Linked DNA regions of Homo sapiens: region 2 is linked to region 1. Evidence: promoter capture Hi-C in human tissues and cell types (Jung and others, 2019). All regions are on one chromosome and are shown on one strand. Each heading gives the region's core, a stretch centred on a gene start or on the middle of the fragment in contact. The rest is flanking DNA. Distances are from core to core; before and after follow the strand shown.

Region 1 (6,509 bases), core at 642-3,141:
CTACAATGTCACCTAACATCTACTACAATGGTGGTAATAAACTAAGGAAGATTAAGTTACAGCAAAAATAACTAATATAAATATTAGAGATTACATAGCAAAAAGTGGGTTTGCCTTCCAGAAGACTATGGTACCCTGACCATTTGGGGCCCAGTAGGATATTTAGCAATGAAAAGGTCAAGATGGGTGGAGGTAAAGCTAAATCAAAAGGAACAGGTATAACTGAGAATCCAAGATAGATAGTGTCCAAATAGATGGTGACAGATCAATCTTCCTCCTCTCAAGAAGCATTTACTGTACTTGTTGCTTCCTCTCAAGATCCCAATGGCTGCTCAAGCTGAAAGTTGCCTATTCCTGCTGTTGAGGGTGTTCAGCAACCAGAATTAATTTTGTGGTGGCTCAGGGCTCTTGCTGCAACTGAGCATCGAACTTGGAGAATTTGTGACACAAAGTGGGGGTTTGGGGCAGGGGGTAGATTGGGTGGCTTTATTGCTAGTTGTTCTGAAAAAAGAAAACTCCGAAGCATTTACATGTAAGCTTTCCAACCACTTTCAAACACCTCTACAAAACACCCTCAGAAGTCTGAAATCTTTGCAGCAGAAGGGCTGTAGTTAAAGCTGCTGGGCTAACAAAATCATCAAAGAAGCCAGATGAGACAACCCAGTCAGGAAATCCTAGTGATTATTCTTAACCTGTTTTTCCCTAATTTAAGGTAAACTCTTATATACCTGATGTGGGATGTAGAAAGTTACACTGGAGCAAGCTGGATCTTCTGCTGAACTTTTAATCAAACCTAAGAAAAAATAAAGGCAAGGTTTGTTTTTATTAATCTTATTTTATTTTAAAATAGCATAACCTAGAAGTTATTCTGTTATAAAGGAACATGGCTGAACAGGTAGGAAACAGATTCCCCATTATGAGTTCTCCTTATGGCTTCTGCAAGGATCATGGAGATGTCAATTACTCGTATTTTGGAGCAATGCTTCATCTTCTCATCTTGAGGTATGGTATTGGTGACTACCACTGCTTCAAAGCATGCAGTGTTGATGCGAGAAATGGCTGGGCCAGAAAAGATTCCATGAGTCAAGATAGCATAAACTCTGGTTGCTCCAGCTGAGAGAAGTTTGTCAGCTGCGAGGCAGATTGTAACACAAGTGTCTGCCATGTCATCTACAAGGATAGCCACACGATCATTCACATCTCCCACTAGCACTATGCAGTCCACTTCATTGGCCTTCTTCCGTTCTTTATGAATCAAAGCAAAGTCCACATTCAACTGGTCTGCAATGGAGGTCACTCTTTTAGCTCCACCAGCATCTGGCGAGACAATAATGCAGTTCTTCCACTCAGGGATATTCTCCCTTATCCACTTCAGGACAGTTGGCTCTGCATACAAGTTGTCTACTGGGATATCAAAAAAGCCCTGAATTTGAGAAGCATGTAGGTCCATGGTGATGATATGATCCGCACCTGCTATAGAGAGCATATTTGCAACAAGCTTGGCAGAGATTGGGGACCGGCTCTTATCCTTCTTATCCTGTCGGGCATAAGGGAAGCATGGGATGACTGCAGTAACTCGGCTAGCTGAAGCAATCTTGCAGGCATTAATCATGATCAAAAGCTCCATTAGACTGTCGTTGATTTCGCCACAACCACTCTGAACGATGTAGACATCCTCTCCACGCACACTCTCATCAATTTCCACGCAGGTCTCCTGGTTGCTGAATTTCTTAGTCACCACCTTGCCTAGCTCCAGGCCCAGGCGGTCAGCAATTTTCTGGGATAAGTCCTGGTGGGAGCTGCCGCTGAAGATTTTGATATTCGGCGTCTTGGCCAACTACCAGAGGCACTCCGTCGAGCGATCCAGCTGCCGCTGAGGCTGGAACGGAAGTGAAGCACAGACTCTAATGGCTTCCGGTTGTTACTCAACCGTTAGGGTCCCTTCCCCCTTGCGGCGCGCGGTCCCAAATTGACCCTGGGTCTCTTGAAAAAATTTCTGCTTGCCACCTCCCACTTCACACTTTTAGACTAAATAATCAAGTATTTACAGTGTATGGAGTTTTTTTCTATTAGCACCTATATTAGTTTCACAGGGCTATTTAAACAAATTTGAATGCATAAAAACATAAAACTACAAAGCAAAACCCAAGTTTAAAAGGAAAATTACCTACTAAAGTATATGCAAAAGATTATTTTAGAAAGAATTTCCCCAATGAAGTGAGAAAAAGACAATAAAATAGAAAGTTGAAAAATGGCATAAATAGGCAATCACAGTAAAAAAAAAATGGATAAGAAACGTGAAACAATGGAAGTAATCAAGAAAACGCTATTTTCACACATCAAGTAGCCAAAATGTTAAGATAAGGTCTTCTATTCGGATGGAATGTATAAATATGTAGATTTTGCATGGGTAATTTTGCACATAAACTTTGACTCATCATGTATACTTCTAGGAATCTATTTCAGAGAAATTTTCACAAGCACCCCAAATATATATGGCTACATAGTAGTGTAGCTGTATTCATTCATGCAATAAATATTTTGTGAACACCTCCTATATGTCAGGTATTATACTACTTCTAGGGTATAAAAATTGTGCATGACAAATAGTAATTGCCCTAGAATTGTTTATAAAAGCAAAATATGGGAACCAACAAATGTTCATCAATAGGTAAATTACCAAATAATTTATTGTATATACATATGCGACCATTAAATAGATTAAGTGTAATCATGTGGAAATGTCTCCTAGGTATTTTTTTAAAGGTAAAGTCAGTCACAAAAATATCATAGTATTATATTTATGTATTTAAGATTATGTGATACTGAAAGCATCCAATTAGCATGGAAGTCCTCTTTATAATAATTACCTTTGGAGAGGGGAGTAGGTTGTGAGAGTTGAGAATGAAGGAGGACTGTTACATTTTACTGCTATCAGTGTGGCATTTGAACATTTATTACTTTTGTAGTAAAAATGATGAACAAAATGTATTTGGTAATTAAATGTTTGTTAGCAAATTTTAAGTATACAGCTTCTATGGCGTATCGGGGCTGGAAATAGTGAGGAAGGAGGCAGAAAGGACCATAGATGCCAATGATTTCATAAAAATAATGGAGGCATCAGATACAGATCAACCATTTATATCTTGCTAATTGTGTGCCTGACATTTGGATACCAGGGTGTTTTTATTTAGCCTAAAACCAAATCATCATTTTTTTCATATTGTAAGATAACCAAATAATTTAAGAGATTTTCTCACCACACTTCTGGGCTTCCTTAATGTGTTGGGTTCATGAATAGGATAAACTCAGAAATGGGATAAGAAATGGGGTAGGCAACAAAGATGGGTAAGATTCAGCAATGTCTGTGAAAAACATTACTTAGCTATAAAAAGGTAGTTTTATATATTGAATGAGGTATTATTATAAACTCAAATAAACAGCTATGTTTTAAATTTTACACCAAAATGGCTTGCTGCTGATCCAATCATTTCTCTCCTGGCATCAACATGGTTTTCTCTCTAGTTCAGCCTCTTCCTGGTTGACAGTGTATGCCAGCCCATTTCTGTCCATAACCCTTCATTCATATTCTTTTTATCACACACACAAAAAATCAACAGACCTACCTATACCACATAATTCTCACCCTTAGCCAGACTACATAAAGTGATTTCTAAAAATCCCGTGGCTTAATTTAGAAGCACTAATAGTATTTGTAGTTTCAATTTATTTTTCTCTTACTATTCTGTGTGTCACACATTTTTCAGTGTTGTTTAAAAAACAAAACAGATTCTAAACAGGTTTAATATTACCTAAATAGGATTAAATGCTAATGTGAACATTTAAAACCCATACTTGGTTGCATTTTCCTTGAGGTGTTAAGGAGGAGAAATTTTTGTCTTGCTGCTATTTTTGTTTCAAGCTCTAGCTGTTGCTACATGTTATAGTTCCAGAAATTTGTCTACAGTCATAAAATGTTAAAGATAGATATGGCCTTAGAGACCACCTAGTCTGATTATCACACTTCACTGACAGGGAACTAAGGCTCAGAGAAATGAAGTAACCTGCCTGGGATCTATCAGCTAAATAGAGGCAGAGTGTGGATTAGAATGTGGGACTCCTGAATTTCCAAGTAGGGCCTTATCAACTATACACTTTCAAGCCTTTTCTTTGAGATTTATCAGAATAAAGGAAAAATTTAAAAGTACTACAAAATATTTGCATTTTTTTTCTCTTTTACCAAGCAACTACAATAAAGAACATAATCCCAAACATGAGACTGGAAAGTTTTTTGCTTTCAAAACAAAAACTTTTCCCAGAAAGAAATGAACCATTAGTAGTGTCAGGGAAGTAGCTTTGTTATTCTGACATTTCTGTTACCTACCTGGTCTATTGCAAGGGGATTTAGCGTCTGTTTACTTTGGTCTCTGTAGGTTGAGAGGGACATCTGTTTTATCATTGGCTGCATTTCACAAGTTACAGGTAGGAATGATGCCTATTGAATAGTATCTTCTATTAAGGACATTGTTTCTTAAATTATTCTGGAAACAAAAATTGCGATATAGAGACAATGCCTTATCTTTCTCCTTCCCAAGGCAAGCATATTTAAATGTCATCTCTATGGATCTGTGAGAATTACTGTATTTTGAAGGTCTTTTGAGTCAATACCCAGAATATATATATATATATATATATATACACACACACACACATATATATAAAACCTTGGTAATAGTTTCTTGCTTTACCGATTATTCTTTTACCCTTCACAATTCCAACATAAATAATTCAAAGAGAGCTCTGATGCAGCTTATCAGCTAGAGAAAAAAGAAATTCAGTCAGTTCTTTCAGAAAGTGAAGAAAAATGGATGTTGTATTTTAAATGAAATAAATGCTTTCACTAAACATACTTGCAGTTGACAAAATGCTAGATGTTTAGGTGGCAATTATAGTTTTTTGATAAACTGTCAAATCTTGTCACAACACATGTTACAAACAAGGACAGATTTAGATGTCCTTTATGACAGCTTTGTGTAGGTTGGGAATGTTTGGCAGTTAATTTCAAACGAGGAACATATTTTTCTTTCCAGCAGTTATCTGCTGGTTTATTAGGCAGAGTTTCTTTGTGCCTTTAATCTTAACTCATTTGACTCACAGTTCCAGATCATTATTGTAACATTACTTTACCTCATTTATTTTATTCATAATAATCATCCACAATACTTTGGGAAAACAATTTCCTACAAAGCTTCACATTGATATAAATGCTTTAAGGTTTGTTTTGTGATTGTTTATGATTAAAGTTGACTACTCTGAGTGTTTACTGAGCTTTTGGTTGGAAATCTGTCGTTTTAAACAATAAATGTGTATATAGCAACTAAATAAAGCTGAGTGAAACAAATAGAATAGGAGAAATTTTTGTGATTCAGAAATGTGGCTTTAATTCTGAGTGTTATGTTAGACTCATGAGGGTATTTTTGAAATGTACTTTGGAATTAAAAAAAACTTTCTGGTGAACTTAAAAATCTTAGCATAAAATAATAATCTTGGAATGACAGCAAGGTTACACGAGCTGAATATGTCATTGTAAAAGACAAACGAACATATAGAGAGGTTCCATAAGTAGTAAATTGCAAATAAGAAAATATCTTTTCAATATTTCTGTGAAATATTTTAAAGTATTTCAAAGCAGTTTTTGATAATGAATATTTTGTTTCTCACATGCAATGTTAGTCTCATGAAATTAAAAAAAGATATGTTTATTTTGACAAAATGCAAGCTTCATTTACGCTATTTAAACCCCTTTAAAAAGACAGTTTTTCCCTCCTCAAAATTGGCCATTTATTTAATTCTAACAATAAACATTGAGACTACTTGTGTACTCGCCTATGGGAAAATTGAGTACCGTTTGTTTTGGAATGGTTCTGCAATTCTCAAACTTCAGAGCATCAGGATCACTGGGAGGATTTGTTAGAATACAGATTCCCAAGCTCCATCTTCAGAGTTTCTCATCAGTAGGCCTGGGGTGGAGGCCCAGAGTTTGTGTTTCTAACAAGACACTAGACAAGACTGATGCTGTTGTTCTGTTGATACGTTTGAGAATCTATTTCATTTTATCTAAATTTATTGGCTAGATGCTTTCCATAAGATCCTCCTATTATATTTTTAGTGTCTGCAACATCTTTAGTACAATTCCCTTTGTCATTTCTGGTATTAGATTTGTGTAATTATTCTCTTTCTTTTTGATCAATTTCACCAGCAGTCTATTAATTTCATCAGCCCTTTCTAAAAAACCTAATGTTTTGATGTATACCTAATGGTTGATGTATCATACTTCAGTGGCTGCTTGTTTTTAACTTTATTGACTTCAAGATTATTTACTATTTACTTTCATCTCAACTTTGAGTTTATTTTGCTGTCCCTTTTCTAATTTGAAATGTGTGCTTAGCTTACTATTTATCACTAGTAAAGCTATATATTTTTCCTCTAAGTACTATTTTACCTGAAGT
Region 2 (6,370 bases), core at 3,735-6,234, 260 kb before region 1:
CTAAGAAATGAAACAGGAGATGTTACAACTGACACCACTGAAATACAAAAGATCATTCAAGGCTACTATGAACACCTTTACACATATAAACTAGAAAAACCTAGAAGAGAGGGATAGATTCCTGGAAAAATACAATCCTCCTAGCTTAAATCAGGAAGAATTAGATCCCCTGAACAGACCAATAACAAGAAGCAAGATTGAAATGGTAATTTAAAAATTAGCAAAAAAAAAAAAAAAAAAGGCTAGGACCAGATGGATTCACAGCAGAATTCTACCAGACATTCAAAGAATTGGTACCAATCCTTTTGACACTACTCCACAAGACAGAAAAAGAAGGAAACCTCCCTAATTCATTCAATGAAGCCAGTATCACTCTAATACCAAAACTAGGAAAGGACATAACCAAAAAAGAAAACTACAGACTGATATTCTTGATAAACATAGATGCTAAAATCCTTAGCAAAATACTAGCTAACCAAATCCAACAATATATCAGAAAGATAAACCACTACGATCAAGTGGTTTTCATACCAGGGATGCAGGGATGCAAGTCAATAAATGTGATACATCACATAAACAGAATTAAAAACAAAAATCACATGATCACCTCAACAGATGCAGAAAAAGCATTTGACAAAATCTAGCATCCTTTATGATTAAAACTCTCAGCAAAACTGGCATAGAAGGGACGTGCCTTAATGTAATAAATGCCATCTATGACAAACCCACAGCCAACATACTACTGAATGGGGAAAAGTTGAAAGCATTCCCTCTGAGAACTGGAACAAGACAAGGACGCCCACTCTCACCACTCCTCTTCAACATAGTACTGGAAGTCCTAGCCAGAGCAATCAGACAAGAGAAAGAAAGGGCATCCAAATCGGTAAAGAGGAAGTTAAACTGTCACTGTTTGCTGACGATATTATAGTTTACCTTGAAAACCCTAGGGACTCCTCTAGAATGCTCCTAGAACTGATAAAAGAATTCAGCAAAGCTTCCAAATACAAGATTAATGTACACAAATCAGTAGCTCTTCTATACAGCAACAGCGACCAAGCAGAGAATAAAAACAACTCAACCCCTTTCACGACAGCTGCAAAAAAAAAAAAACAACTTAGGAATACACATAACAAAGGAGTCGGAAGACTTACAAGGAAAACTACAAACTACTGTTGAAAGAAATCATAGATGACACAAAGAAATGGAAGCACATCCCATGCTCATGGATGGGTAGAATCAATATTGTGAAAATGACCATACTGCCAAAAGCAATCTACAAATTCAACACAATCGCTATCAGAATATCACCATCATTCTTCAAAAAATTAGAAAAAACAATTCTAAAATTCATATGGAACCAAAAAAGAACCTGCATAGCCAAAGCAAGACTAAGCAAAAAGAACAAATCTGGAGGCATCACACTACCTGATTTCAAACTATACTATAAGGCCATAGTCACCAAAACAGCATGGTACTGGTATAAAAACAGGCACACAGACCAATGGGGCAGAATAGAGAACCCAGAAATAAACCCAAATACTTACAGCCAACTGATCTTCAACAAAGCAAACAAAAACATAAAGTGGGAAAAGGACACCCTTTTCAACAAATGGTGCTGGGATAATTGGCTAGCCACATGTAGGAGAATGAAACTGGATCCTCATCTCTCACCTTATACAAAAATCAACTCAAGATAGATTAAGGACTTAAACCTAAGACCTGAAACTATAAAAATTCTAGAATATAACACTGGAAAAAACCCTATTAGACATTCGCTTAGGCACGGATTTCATGACCAATAACCCAGAAGCAAATGCAATAAAAACAAAGATAAACAGCTGGGACATAATTAAAGAGCTTTTGCATGGCAAAAGGAACAGTCAGCAGAGTAAACAGACAACCCACAGAGTAGGAGAAAATCTTCACAATCTATACATCTGACAAAGGACTAATACCCAGAATCTACAATGAACTCAAACAAATCAGTAAGAAAAAAACAAAAGATCCCATCAAAAAGTAGGCTAAGGACATGAATAGACGATTCTCAAAAGAAGATATACAAATGGCCAACAAACATACAAAAAAATGCTCAGCATCACTAATGATCAGGGAAATGCCAATCAAAACAACTATGTGATACCACCTCACTCCTGCAAGAACGTCCATAATCAAAAAATCAAAAAACAGTAGATGTTAGTGCGGATGCAGTGAACAGGGAACACTTCCACATTGCTGGTAGGAATGTAAACTAGTACAGGCACTAAGGAAAACAGTGTGGAGGTTCCTTAAATAACTAAAAGTAGAACTACCATTTGACCCAGCAATCCCACTACTGGGTGAAAAGAAGTCATTATTCAAAAAAGATACTTGCATATGAATGTTTATAGCAGCACAAGTTACAATTGCAAAATCGTGGAACCAACCCAAATGCCCATCAATCAATGAGTAGATAAAGAAACTGTGGTACATATATACAATTGAATACTACACAGCCATAAAAAGGAATTAATTAACAGCATTTGCAGTGACCTAGATGAGATTGGAGACTATTATTATTATTATTATTATTTTTTTTTTTTTTTTGAGACAGAGTTTCACTCTTGTTTCCCAGACTGGAGTGCAATGGTGTGGTCTTGGCTCACCACAACCTCTGCCTCCCGGATTCAAGTGATTCTCCTGCCTCAGCCTCCCAAGTAGCTGGGATTACAGATGCCCACCACCACACCTGGCTGATTTTTGTATTTTTAGTAGAAGTGGGGTTTCACCATGTTGACCAGGCTGGTCTAGAACTCCTGACCTCAGGTGATCCGCCCACTTTGGCCTCCCAAAGTGCTGGGATTACAGGCGTGAGCCACCACGCCTGGCCTTGGAGATTATTATTCTAAGTGATGTAACTCAGGAATGGAAACCAAACATCGTATGTTCTCACTGATATGTGGGAGCTAAGCTATGAGGATGCAGAGGCATAAGAGTGATACAATGGACTTTGGGGACTTGGGGGGAAGGGTGGGAGGGGGGCGAGGGATAAAAGATTATAAATATGGTGCAGTGTATACTTCTTGGGTGATGGGTGCACCAAAATCTCACAAATCACCATTAAAGAACTTACTCATGTAACCAAATACTACCTGTACCCCAGTAACTTATGGAAAAATAAAATTTAAAATAAAATTTAAAAATTATAATAAAAGTTTGACATATTAAAAAGAATTACCAAAAGGTGAATCAGAGACACAAAGCAGGTATATTTCATTGGAGGATGCCAATGATTAAGACTTGCTTGACACAGGATTGCCAGAAACTTTCAGTTTGTGAAGAAGTACAATAAAATGAGGTATGTCTGTATATTCATAAAATTATGCAACCATCCCCACTATTTAATTCTAGAATGTTTTCATCACCCCAGAAAGGAACTACATATCCATTAGCAGTCACTCCCCAGCTCTCTTCCTTCCCGCAGCCCCTGGTAAACACTAATCTACTTTGTGTTTCCATGGAATTTCCCTGTTGGGTCATTTCATATAAATGAAATTATACATTATGTGGCCTTTTGTGACTAGTTTCTTTCACTTAGCATAGTATTTTCAAGTTCTATCCATATTGTAGACTGTATTAAAACTTTTTCCTTGTTACAACCAAATAAAATTCCATTGTATAAATACATTTTATTTATACATTCATTGATGGATATTTGTGTTGCCTCCATCTTCGGGTTGTTATTAATAGTGCTGCTATAAACATTCGTGTACAAGAATTTGTGTGGATATATGTTTTCATTTCCCTTGCGTATAAATCTGGGCATGACTGCTGGGTATTATGGTAGCTCGATGCTAAACATTTTGAAGAGCTGCCACACTGTTTTTTAAAGGGGCTGCACCATTTTACATTCCCATCAGTTTTGTATTTCTCCATGTCTTTATCTTTTTTATTAATGTCATTCTAGTGAATATGAGGTACTAACTCATTGTGGCTTTGGTTTTTATTTCCCTAATGACTAATGATGTTGAACTTCTTTTTCACACGCTATTTGTAAATCTTATTTGGAGGAATGTTTATTCAGATCCTTTGTCCATCTTTTAATTAAATAGTTTGCCTTTTTATTATTAGGTTGTAAGAGTTCTTTATACAGTCTTTATATATATATATATTTAGAAATTCTGGTTACAAGTCTCTTAACGGATATATAATCTACAAATATTTTCTCCCTGTGGGTTGTTTTTTCACTTTCTAGATAGTGCTCTTTGAAACACAAAATTTTTAATTTTAATTTTGATAAAGTCTAATGTATCTATTTTTTTCTTTGGTTCTTTGTGTTTTTGGTGTCACATGTAAGAAGCTATTGCTTAATCAAAATTTATTAATATTTACTCCTATGTTTTACAGCAGGGGCCCCCAATCCCTGGGCCATCAACGGTACTGGTCTGTGGCCTGTTAGGAACCAGGCTGTGCAGCAGGAGGTGAGCAGTGGGTGAGCAAGCATTATCACCTGAACTCCACTTTCTGTTTGTTTGTTTGTTTGTTTTGTTTTTTGAAACAAAGTCTCACTGTGTTGCCCAGGCTGGACTGCAGTGGTGCGATCTTGGCTCACTGCAACCTCTGCCTCCCAGGTTCAAGTGATTCTCATGCCTCAGGCTGCCAAGTAGCTGGGATTACAGGCGCACGCCACCACACCGGGCTAATTTTCATATTTTTAGTAGAGACAGGGTTTCGCCATGTTGGTCAGGCTGGTCTCAAAGTCCTGGCCTCAGGTGATCCGCCCACCTCGGCCTCCCAAAGTGCTGGGATTACAGGTGTGAGCCACCGCACCTGGCCTCGCATTCTGTAAGATTAGCAGTGGCATTAGATTCTCATAGGAGCATGAATCCTGTTGTGAACTGTGCATGTGAGGGATCTAGGTTGTGCTCCTTATGAGAGTCTGACTAATGCCCAATGATCAGAGGTGGAACACTTTCATCTCAAAACCATCCCACTCGCAGCCATTTGTGGAAAAGTTGTCTTCCACGTAAACAGTCACTGGTGCCAAAAAGGTTGGGGACCACTGTCCTATGAGATTTTGGTGAAGATTAACTGGGATAATGTATGTAAATTCTGGGCATGTAACTATCAGTGGGAAGTAATATCTTATATTGTCATTCAGACAATTCCTCCAGGCTTCCACCTCCACCCTCATCTAATTTCTCTGGTTTCCACCTCTACCATACCCTCTGGATTTGCCCCTTGGTTGGACTGGCTCTGGCTTTGATTTCAGACTCTTCCTAAAACACTGCTTCTGCATACCTCATGACCTTTAGTTTCAAGCAAGTGATGTTGACAGTTGCTCAGCTCAGGTTCTGGACTGTCCAGGAGGGGGCATCAGACAACAAGAAGAGAAGTCCCTAGAAAAGACAGCTTTAATCAAATAATACTGCCATTCATTGAAAACCTGCTGCGTGGCTTCCTCTTTATGGGCATTATCTCTATTCTCTAGAATAACTGTGGGAATAGAGTACAGTATTACCACCATGATATAAAAGAGGAAACTGATTTTCTAAGTTTAATAACTTTCCCAACATTTCCCAGTTTAGTAATTGATGGGCTGGGATTTGACTGACTATAAAGCTTGTACTATTTCTTTTATACCACCAATCTCGATCTCACAGGGCTACAAAAAATCTTGAAGCAAGCATTAGAACTTCCCTCTATCTTTAGTAGCTCTAAATGACGTAAAAATGTGTTTAGAGAGCATTAAAATGTGTTTAACAAAATGTGTTAAGAGAATATGTCCTGGACTTAGGGGACAAACTAGAAATCAAGCTTCCAGACCTCAGGACCTACAGTATAAATTAGAATGCAAAACACTAACAAGCAACATACCCAGAAGGTAGTTATGAAGTAATAATGACTTGATAAAGTTAACATCATACATTCTGATACTTCATTGAAATTTTCTTCCCTGGGCTGGTCTATGATGTTTTTAAATATCTAAACTATGGCTTAACGTCCATGAAGCTTGAACCTGATCAATTTCTCTAAGGCACTATAGTTACAGTTTGAGTATCGTTCACCCAGGGGATAGTATTATTTTCTCAAAATGTCTTCTGGGTCTATCTGCAGCAGAATCTCCTGCTATACTTAATAAAATTCACGTTTCAAAGCCACTCCTTTCATTTACTGATGTCTACGCTGGTGACTGACATGCTGCATTTTTAAGCAGCTGTTCATTAAACAGCAAGAAACAGTTATTGCCTCACCATTGGACTTCCCTTTTTGCCATTAAGAGACAGCATCTGCCCTTTAAGTTCTGCCTCTCTTACCATGAGTCCTAAACATTATAAAAGCAGAAGTTTATAAAGTTAGTCCAATTTCTACCATTTGGCACATAGTGGTAATA

What was found. Contacts are between HindIII fragments. The study calls those that stand out against the background at their distance.
Region 2: a fragment that was not itself captured here is called in contact with the fragment with the promoter of PRPS1L1 in region 1 in 2 of the 25 tissues and cell types used here (hippocampus and mesenchymal stem cells).

The regions. Positions count from the first base shown.
Region 1 is chr7:18,025,955-18,032,463 of GRCh38, forward strand. PRPS1L1 (phosphoribosyl pyrophosphate synthetase 1 like 1) reads right to left here and starts at 1,892. Exons shown (of 1, transcript NM_175886.3): 1 at 816-1,892. The coding sequence starts at 1,828. The coding sequence ends at 872. The HindIII fragment of the contact is 4,496 bases long and covers 1,018-5,513 here.
Region 2 is chr7:17,764,687-17,771,056 of GRCh38, forward strand. No RefSeq gene overlaps it. Among named protein-coding and RNA genes, the nearest start is that of SNX13, 170 kb to the right of the region's middle. The HindIII fragment of the contact is 3,377 bases long and covers 3,297-6,370 here.